3 separate regions of the Homo sapiens genome follow, and all the other regions are linked to region 3. Evidence: promoter capture Hi-C in human tissues and cell types (Jung and others, 2019). All regions are on one chromosome and are shown on one strand. The core of a region is centred on a gene start or on the middle of the fragment in contact, and the rest is flanking DNA. Distances in the headings are between cores, read along the strand shown.

Region 1 (3,301 bases), core at 190-2,689, 1.3 Mb after region 3:
TCTATGCTTATGGATTGGAAGAATCAATATTGTTAAAATGGCAATACTGCCCAAAGCGATCCACAGATTCATCGCTTTCTAACAAACTATGAATGTCATTTTTCACAGAATTGGGAAAAAAAGCTATTCTAAAATTTATATAGAGCCAAAAAAGAACCAAAACAGTCAAGGGAATTCTAGCAAAAGAACAAAGCTGGGGGCATCATATTACTGACTTCAAAATATACTCAAAGACAACAGTAAGCAAAACAACATGGTGCTGGTACAAAAATAGACCCATAGAGCAAAGGAACAAAATAAGAACCCAGAAATAAAGTCGCACACCTACAACCATTTGATCTTCAACAAAGTCGACAAAAATAAGCAATAGAGGAAGGACTCCCTGTTCAACAAATAGTGCTGGGATAGCCGGTGAGCCATATGCAGAAGAATGAAACTGGACCCCTACCTGTCCTCATGTATAAAAATTATCTCAAGACAGATTAAATATTTAAATGTAAGACCCCAAACTATACCAATCCTGGAGAAAAATCTGGGGAACCCCTTTCTGGATATCAACCTTGGGGAAAAATTTGTGACTAAGTCCTCAAAAGCAATTACAACAAAAACAAAAATTGACAAGTAGAACCTAATTGAACTAAAGAGCTTCTACACGACAAAAGAAACTATCAACAGAGTAAACAGACAATCTACAAAATGGGAGAAAATATTTGCAAACTATGCACCTGACAAATGTCTAATATTCACAATCTATAAGGAAATTAAACAATTGAATGAGGAATAACAAACAGCCCCATTTTAAAATGGGCAAAAGACATGAGCATACACTTCTCAAAAGGAGACATTCAAGAACCCAAAAAAAAGTGAAAAAATGCTCAACATCACAAATTATCAGAGAAATGCAAATCAAACCACAATGAGATACCATCTCACACCAGTCAGATTGGCTATGATTTAAAAAGTCAAAAAACAACAGATGTTGGCAAGGCTGCAGAGAAAAGAGAACACTTATACACTGTTGGTGGGAATGTAAATTAGTTCAGCCACTGTGGAGAGCAGTTTGGAGCTTTCTCAAAGAACTTAAAATAGAACTACCATTCCACCCAGCAATCCCATTACTGCATACATACCCCCAAAACCCAAATTGTTCTACCAAATAAAGACATGTGTACTTGTATGTTCATTGCAGCACTATTCACAATAGCAAAGACATGGAATCAACTAGGTGCCCATCAATGGTGGATTAGATAAAGAAACTGTAGCACATACATACCATGGAATACAAAGCAACCATAAAAAGAATGAAATCATGTCCTTTGCCGCAATATAGATACAGCTGAGGGCCATTATCTTAAGCAAATTAATGCAGAAACAGAAAACCAAATACCATATGTTCCCACTTATAAGTGGGAGCTAAACATTGGGCAGTCATGGACATAAAGATGACAACAATAGACACTGGGGACTACTAGAAGGGAGAAGGAAAAAGGGGGAAAGGGCTGAAAAACTAACTGTTGGGTACTATGCTTAGTACCTAGCTTACAGGATCAGTTACATCCCAAACCTTGGCATCACTCAATATACCCAGGTAACAAACCTACACAGGTACCCTCTGAATCTAAAATAAAAGTTGGAATTATTTTTTTAAATGAACCAAAAACCTTAACAGACACCTCACCAAAGAATATATACAGATGGCAACTAAGCATATGAAAAGATGCTCCACATCATATGTCGTCAGGGAAATGCAAATTAAAACAATGAGATACCACTATGAACCTACTGGAATAGCCAAAACCCAGAACATTGACTCCAGTAAATGCTGGTAAGAATGTGGGGCAGTAGGAACACTCACTCACTGCTGGTAGGAATGCAAAATGGTACCACAACCTTGGTAAACAGTTTGGCAGTTTCTTTAAAAAACAGACAAACTCTTACCACACAATTCAGCAACTGGACTCTTTGGTATTTATCCAGAGGAGTTTTAAATATATACCCCCACAAAAACTTGCATAGAGATGTTTATAGCAGCTTTATTCATAATTACCAGAACTTGAAAGCAACCAAGATGTCCATCAGTAGGTGAATGGATAAATAAACATTGATACATCAGGCAATAGAATACAATTCAGTGCTAAAAGGAAATGAGCTGTCAAGCCATAAAAGATATGGGGGAAACTTAAGTGCATATGACTAAGTTAAAGAAGTCCATCTGGAAAGAGTACATACTGTATGACTATACGCTATTCTGGAAAAGGCAAGACTCTGGAAACAGTAAAAAGATCAATGGTTGCCATGAATTAGCAGCAGGAAGGGGGAAAGGATCAACAGGCAAAATGCAGAGGTCAGTGAAACTACTCTATGATACTATAATGCTGGATACATCTTATTATACATTTGTGCAAACCCATAGAATGTATAATGCCAAGAGTGACCCCTCATGTAAGCCATGAACTTTGGGTAATAATGATGAGTTAATGTGAGTTTATCACTTGTAATGTAGCACTCTGATGAAGGGTGTTATTAATGGGGGAGGCAATGCATGTGCAGGGTGAGGGGATAGCTGAGTAATCTCTGTACCTTCTCAATTTTGCTATCAACCTGAAACTATTCTAAAAAAATTAAGCCTTTTAAAAAAAATGTACCTTTAATAAAAAATGTGAAGACGTTCTCATAGAAACTCTATGAATTTAGGATATGAATGTATAGTTATATATTTATATCTACACATATATAATGGATTAAAAATTAAATAGCACAGAAGCTATCATTTATAGAGTGAATTTCTAAAACTTATTTGATGCAATTAGGTAAGTGCAAATTTAAAACTAAAATGAAATACCTCCATACACCTATGTCAATTGCTAAAATTCAAAAGACTAATAATGCCACAAGTTGACAAGGATATGGAGCAACTAGGACTCTTATTCATTGCTGACAGAAATGCAAAATGATACAGCCACTTTGGAAAACAGTGTGGCAGTGTCTTATAATGTTACCAGTAATACCACTCCTAAAAATAAAAACATATGTCCACAGGAAAAAAAAACAGAATGTCCCATGGACCCCCATAAGTTTATTCCTATTACATACATATTCCACTGCCTAGCCAGCCCACAAGGCCAGAAAAAAAGAAGCTCTTTCTAAGCACTCCCTCCTGCAACTTATCATATCCAATCAGTTACTAAAGTTCCTTAATATTTTTGCATTCTCCATATTACTGTCTTCCTTGATGCAGAACATCATTACTTCAGGTCTAGGTGATATGGTTTTGCTGTGCCCCCACCCAAATCTTATCTTA
Region 2 (3,310 bases), core at 584-3,083, 1.1 Mb after region 3:
GACATGTGGCATGGGTGTCTCAGGTGAGTTTAAATGTAAATTTGAGCTGAGTCAAGATATTATACAAAGCTTGTGGGAGGCTGAGGTGGGCAGATCACTTGAGATCAGGAGAGTTCGAGACCAGCCTGGCCAACATGGTAAAACCCCGTCTCTACTGAAAATACAAAAATTAGCCAGGTGTGGTGGGGGCGGGGGGGGCACCTGTATTCCCAGCTACTTGAGAGGCTGAAGCCAGAGAATCACTTGAACCCAGGAGGCAAAGGTTGCAGTGAGCCTAGATCGTGCCATTGCACTCCAGCCTGGGTGACAGAGATTTGGTCTCAAAAAAAAAAAAAAAAAAAGATATTATACAAAGCTTGTTCTGTTCATAAAAGGTTGAACATTACTGTATAAGACTACAGATCACACAATTCTGCATGTTTTATTTTATAATATTTTATTTTTATTTTTGGTAGCAGAAGGATCTCACTATTTTGCCCAAGCTGGCCTTGAACTCCTGGCCTCAAGTGATCCTCCCACATCAGCCTCCCAAAATGCTGGGATTATAGGCATGAGCCACCACTCCTGGCCTAGATAAACTTTGATTTCTCTTTTATTATAAAGGTAACATGTTTGTTACCTTTTGCTACCATGTTTGTTACATGGTTGTATTTGGAAAATATAGTAGAAGTATACAAAAGAAAATGTAGACTTGTTATACTGTAACACCCAGCCAGAGATAAGCACTATTAATGCTTTGGCATATTATTTGTATTGTCTTTCTGATAAATAGAGATAAGATAGATGTCATTGTATATAGTTTCATATCTTACATTTTCTAACAATTTTGTAAGCATGTTCTTGTCATTTAGTTTTTTTAATGTTATATGTTAATGTCTCCATAATAATTTAATTACATCTGTGTACAACAATTTATTAAGCATTTCTTTGTTATTGAGAGAGTGTTTCTAACCCTTTGCTTATCTTATATAATGTAGCAATGAAAACCCTCTTGCGTGAATAGTTCTTTGAACTGCTGTGTTTTTCCTCAGCAGATTCCTTACAAAAAGAATTTCAGGATAAAGGTATACAAAGATTTTTAAGTTTCTTAAATAAATTGTCAAATAGTTTTCTAGATAAGTGGCAACAATTTATACTTCTACTGGCTGTCACAACAGTAAGAACTGTCATGTTTTATTTTATTTATTTATTTATTTATTTATTTTTGAGACAGTCTCACTGTGTCACCCAGGCTGGAGTACAGTGGAGCAATCATGACTCACTGCAGCTTCTACCTCTTGGGCTCAAGCCATACTCCCACCTCTGCCTCCCAAGTAGCTGGGACTACAGGCGCTTGCCAACACACCCAGCTAATTTTTGTATTTTTCATAGAGACAGAGTTTTGCCATGTTGCCCAGGCTGGCCTCCAACTCCTGAGTTCAAGTGATCCACCCACCCTGGCCTCCCAAAGTGCTGGCATTACAGGAGTGAGCCACTGCACCTGGCCAAAACCTGTCATGTTTTATAATGTTTGGAACTTTATATATGCAAAAAAAAAGTGATAACAAAGTTTTATTGAAATTTTCTTGAGTTTATTTTGTGTGGTTGAAAACTCTGTGTATGTTTATAGAATGCTCTATTTATAATCTTTGCCCATTTTTCTTTCCTAGTGAAATATTCTTATTTATTTATATGAGCTTTCATGAGATTTATATGAGATATATATATACATGCATATGTATATTAATCCTTTGCTATCTATGCTGCAAATTTTTTCTACATGTTTTCTGTCTTTTAATTTTGCTAATGATTTCAACATTAAAAAGTTTTAGGCTGGGCACGGTGGCTCACGCCTGTAAGCCCAGCACTTTGGGAGGCCAAGGCAGGCACATCACTTGAGGTCAGGAGTTCAAGACCAGCCTGACCAACATAGCCAAACCCTGTCTGTCCTAGAAGTACAAAAAAATTAACCAGGCATGGTATGTGTGCCTGTAATACCAGATACTCAGGAGTCTGAAGCAGGAGAATTGCTTGAACCCGGGAAGCAGAGGTTGCAGTGAGCCAAGATCTCACCACTGTACTCCAGCCTGGGCAACAGAGTGGGACTCCATCTGAAAAAACAAAAACAAAAACAAAAAACAAAAAAGAACCCCTTAAATTTACTTGTATTCAAATCTTTGCTTTTACCTTGTAATTTCTTCCATGCTTTTTGTTTATAATTCCTTCTCCACTTTGAAGACAGGAGAATATTTATTTGTATTTTGAGATGTTTTATTTTTTGTAATTAACTTGATAATTCATCTTGTGTTTATTTTACATGTAGCACGAGGTGAAGATTTAACTGGCGATCATTCCCCAAACTGTTTGCTGACTAATCCATTTGTGTGTGGTTTTCCTTATCATGTATTAGATCCCCACACACATCATGGGTGTCTTGGCCTATACCCCAAACTCCCTTTCAGGAATGAAGGACTTTGTTTCTCCAGCAGCTAGAAGACAGCTCTCAGCTGCCAGTTCTTTGGGGATTGACTCTGCAGAAAAAAAAAAAAAAATCTGCCTGAAAAAGAATCTAAATGACCTTCTAAGCCCCACAGCTCCCTATGTGGTGTGTGGCTGCAGCCTTTCTTGGGACTGAATCACAGCTCAACTTATCTCTGTGCTCAATTTCACTTCTGTCCTCTCCTTCCATGCTCACCCCAAGCACACTCCCTAATGAATGTCTGATATGGTCTGGCTGTGTGTCCCAACTCAAATCTCCTCTTGCATTGTAATCCAAATTATAATCCCTATATGTTGAGGGAGGGACCTCACGGGAAGTGATTAGATCATGGGGGCAGTTCCCCCATGCTGTCCTCATGATAGTGAGTAAGTTCTCATGCTATCCGATGGTTTTATAAAGGGCTTTTCCCCCACTTCACTCTTCACTCATTCTCTCTCCTGCCACCCCGTAAAGAGGTGCTTTCTGCCATGATTGTAAGTTTCCTGAGGCCTCCCCAGCCAGGCAGAACTGTGAGTCAATTAAACCTCTTTTCTTTATAAATTACCCAGTCTCGGATATTTCTTCATAGCCGCATGAGAACTGACTAATACAAAGTCCTACAACCTAATCTCCATATCAGAGTCAGCTTCCAGGGAGTACAGCCTATGACATACATAAAGGCCCATGATCTGCAATCCAAAATTTCAAAATTAGCGAAGTTCTAAAAAGCACATTTTTTTTTCTTTTTCATGAGTTTCGTGCCAACGTTCACTTGGGAACAAAATATGACTTGAATCAGTTGGAGGCTGTTTGTAGTTTTTATGTGTCCTACTGAGTTTCATTACAGAAATA
Region 3 (3,434 bases), core at 43-2,542:
AAAAATGTCACAGAATCCCTGTTAGGAGATGCTTATTAGGGCAATCGAAAACAAAAGTTTTCGTGGTTTCATTATTCGTATTATTTTATTTTCTTCCTGAAAATGTGCAAGAACAGCTCATCTGGGTGGCCTGTGGTTTGTTTGGGAGAGGGGTGGGGAAATTCATTCTGACTATAATTTAAAGAGAAGAAATTCTTAAAATAGATATGTCGATGTTGCACAAAACCTCCACCACCACTACCCTGCGTTCTAAAGACCCAAGGCACGAATGGAAGACGTTGACCACCACGCAGCTCCTCCTGCAACCAGGCCCAAGGGGTTCCTGGGGAAGCTGTCACAGAATTGAAAGCAGTATTGAACCCCACGGAAATCTGCTCTTGTGGGCACTTGCAAAACAACGAACCCCACGTGATCCGGAGATGTGGTGGAGGGGTGAGGCTAACATTTCCTACAACCTCCTGCAAAGGATGGAAGCGCGTGCCGCTCTCCCGGGTTTCGGGAGGCAGCCTGTTTTGTAGCCTCTGAGGCTCCGGGGAAAGGTTTGGCTGCGTCTAAGAGAGACGTTTGGAGCCATCCGTCTTATTTTGTTTGAAAAGTCACTCGTTCAATTTGTCACTGTGTGACAGCTCAGAATAAAACCAATTTGCGGCCGCCCCTCCTCCTCGCTTCCCGGAGGATCTCCTGGGAGGCACGAGGCGGACGCGGTGCTGAGTTGGGCCGGGACTCAGGGCGGCAACATTTGGGCAAGGGCCCAGGAAAGATGAGGGGCTTTGCCGAGGACACGGACTCCTGGAATAAAAGCAGAATGAGGTCAAGAGAAGGGAAGCAAAGGGGCCAAAGCGCGCTCCGCTCTCCACCGGGAGGCGGGCTTTGCAGAGCCCTAAAGAGTGAGATTACCGTCCCTTCCCCACGCCCCCAACTCGCCCCGGGTGACAAGCGCTTCAGGAAAGCTCCTGTGATCAACCCTCCTTGCCCCGTGGCGGTTCGGAGCTGCAGAAGTTAGAAGAGAGTCAGAGCCCTCCGGAGCGGCTGCCTGGCCCCTACGCAGAGTAGCAAGAAGCACTGCGATGTGCGCTACTAAGCCCACGCGGCCGCAGCAAAAACTTTGGCGTGGCCGGGGCGTGGCTAGGGTCCGGCCAGGCCCCCTTGTTCCTAATTCCCCTCCACTCCCCGCTCCCATTGGTCACGAGGATGACCAATGAGCGCTCGGATCGAGGTCCTACCCCGGGCCTGACTCGAAAGCTCCTGCCAAAACTTTGGGAGTTTTTAGAGACGAGTTTTTTTTTTTTTCTATTACTTTTCCCCCCCCCTAACTAACGGACTATTATTGTTGTTGTTTTAAATTTAGCTCTTAGGGCTTAGCTATTTGGGTTTTCTTGCGGTGTCCGGCTCCCGTCTCCCTGGCTCCCCCGCCCGCCCTGCGGCCCCAGCGCCCCTCGCTCTCATCCAGCCCGCGAGGAGTGCGGGCGCCGCGCCGCCTTTAAAGCGAGGCCAGGGAGCGAGGCGGTGACCGGCCGAGATCCGGCCCTCGCCTCCTCCCTCGGTGGCGCTAGGGCTCCCGGCCTCTCTTCCTCAGTGCGGGCGGAGAAGCGAAAGCGGATCGTCCTCGGCTGCCGCCGCCTTCTCCGGGACTCGCGCGCCCCTCCCCGCGCGCCCACCCACCCAGTCCGGCTGGACTGCGGCAGCCGCGCGGCTCACCCCGGCAGGATGTTCGCAGCCGGGCTGGCTCCCTTCTACGCCTCCAACTTCAGCCTCTGGTCGGCCGCTTACTGCTCCTCGGCCGGCCCAGGCGGCTGCTCCTTCCCCTTGGACCCCGCCGCCGTCAAAAAGCCCTCCTTCTGCATCGCAGACATTCTGCACGCCGGCGTGGGGGATCTGGGGGCGGCCCCGGAGGGCCTGGCAGGGGCCTCGGCCGCCGCCCTCACCGCGCACTTGGGCTCGGTTCACCCGCACGCCTCTTTCCAAGCGGCGGCCAGATCCCCGCTTCGACCCACCCCAGTGGTGGCGCCCTCCGAAGTCCCGGCTGGCTTCCCGCAGCGGCTGTCTCCGCTCTCAGCCGCCTACCACCACCATCACCCGCAACAACAACAGCAGCAGCAACAGCCGCAGCAGCAACAGCCTCCGCCTCCGCCCCGGGCTGGCGCCCTGCAGCCCCCGGCCTCGGGGACGCGAGTGGTTCCGAACCCCCACCACAGTGGCTCTGCCCCGGCCCCCTCCAGCAAAGACCTCAAATTTGGAATTGACCGCATTTTATCTGCAGAATTTGACCCAAAAGTCAAAGAAGGCAACACGCTGAGAGGTAGGTCTTGGGCGGGAGGCTGCAGGCCTCTGACCACTGACCCACTCCCCGGACCCCGGGCTGGCTTGGGGTGCCTTTGAGTGTTTTTACAATTAAGGACAAATCGGTAAAACGGGAGAGAAGAAAACGAATTGTAAGAAAACTACAAAACATTAGGTCTAAAACTCACCTGTTCTATGTAAAACAAACAAAAAATGACTCCAGGGATTCTTTAAAAACACGTCTTAGAATCAATATTTATAAAAGTGGTTGGTGTAATTATCTGCTAACATGACTTTGATCTCTTTAATAATGTATCTAGAGACAGAATTATATTTTCTGACAGCTAAAGCATTTTTGGGAAACACTTTCGCACTTATCTGATTTCTAGTAAAAATTTCACCCAGGAAATGTAAATAATAAACAAAACCGCCTAGATGAGCGGGCAGAGTGGGGCCACCTTGGGGCGGAGGTTTTGCGTCTGTGGCGTTCTTGGAAGACACGTGAAAGTGAGGCCGTAAGCCGATTTATGTAAAGCCTTTACTTACTATATACATGCATATGGACGTGAGGGACACACAGGAACTTTTCGTGCGTCGCTCCTTGGCAACTGTTGGGAGAGAGAGGTTTCAGCGCCTAGACGGGTTCTCTCTTGACTTCGCTCAATAAAAGTGAATCCAGGGCAAGGGGAAGGGGAGGAACAAATCAGCGGAGAGTGTGAGTGTGCCCGAGATGTAACCTGCTATCCTTTTCCCTTGTCCCCAGATCTCACTTCCCTGCTAACCGGTGGGCGGCCCGCCGGGGTGCACCTCTCAGGCCTGCAGCCCTCGGCCGGCCAGTTCTTCGCATCTCTAGATCCCATTAACGAGGCTTCTGCAATCCTGAGTCCCTTAAACTCGAACCCAAGAAATTCAGTTCAGCATCAGTTCCAAGACACGTTTCCAGGTACGGAAAAACTCCAGAGTACTGCCTAACGGGCGAGCCGACTAACAGTCAGAAATCTCAGGACTGACGCCTCCAGGGCTGCCACGGTGTCGCAATCTCACAATTGGGGCGGGAGGCTACGGAGTCAGGAGAGAGAAACCGAAAGATTTCTCAGCGAGCTAGCGCTCGCTTCGGATGGTTCCCCTTGAAAAGGGGTAGAGGCGCCTGGAGA

What was found. The method cuts DNA at HindIII sites, captures the fragments that hold promoters and counts their contacts. A contact is called where the count stands out against the background at its distance.
Region 1: a contact is called between a fragment that was not itself captured here and the fragment with the promoter of HLX in region 3, in 1 of the 25 tissues and cell types used here (lymphoblastoid cells).
Region 2: a fragment that was not itself captured here is called in contact with the fragment with the promoter of HLX in region 3 in 1 of the 25 tissues and cell types used here (aorta).

The regions. Positions count from the first base shown.
Region 1 is chr1:222,179,227-222,182,527 of GRCh38, forward strand. No RefSeq gene overlaps it. Among named protein-coding and RNA genes, the nearest start is that of LINC01705, 120 kb to the left of the region's middle. The HindIII fragment of the contact is 8,549 bases long and covers 1-3,301 here.
Region 2 is chr1:221,995,891-221,999,200 of GRCh38, forward strand. No RefSeq gene overlaps it. Among named protein-coding and RNA genes, the nearest start is that of LINC02257, 19 kb to the left of the region's middle. The HindIII fragment of the contact is 5,367 bases long and covers 1-3,310 here.
Region 3 is chr1:220,878,151-220,881,584 of GRCh38, forward strand. HLX (H2.0 like homeobox) reads left to right here and starts at 1,293. Exons shown (of 4, transcript NM_021958.4): 1 at 1,293-2,299; 2 at 3,044-3,223. The coding sequence starts at 1,708. It overlaps HLX-AS1 (HLX antisense RNA 1), which reads right to left and starts at 1,990. Exons shown (of 3, transcript NR_046901.1): 1 at 1,699-1,990. RefSeq lists a silencer at 850-899 and an enhancer at 2,018-2,626. The HindIII fragment of the contact is 15,886 bases long and covers 1-3,434 here.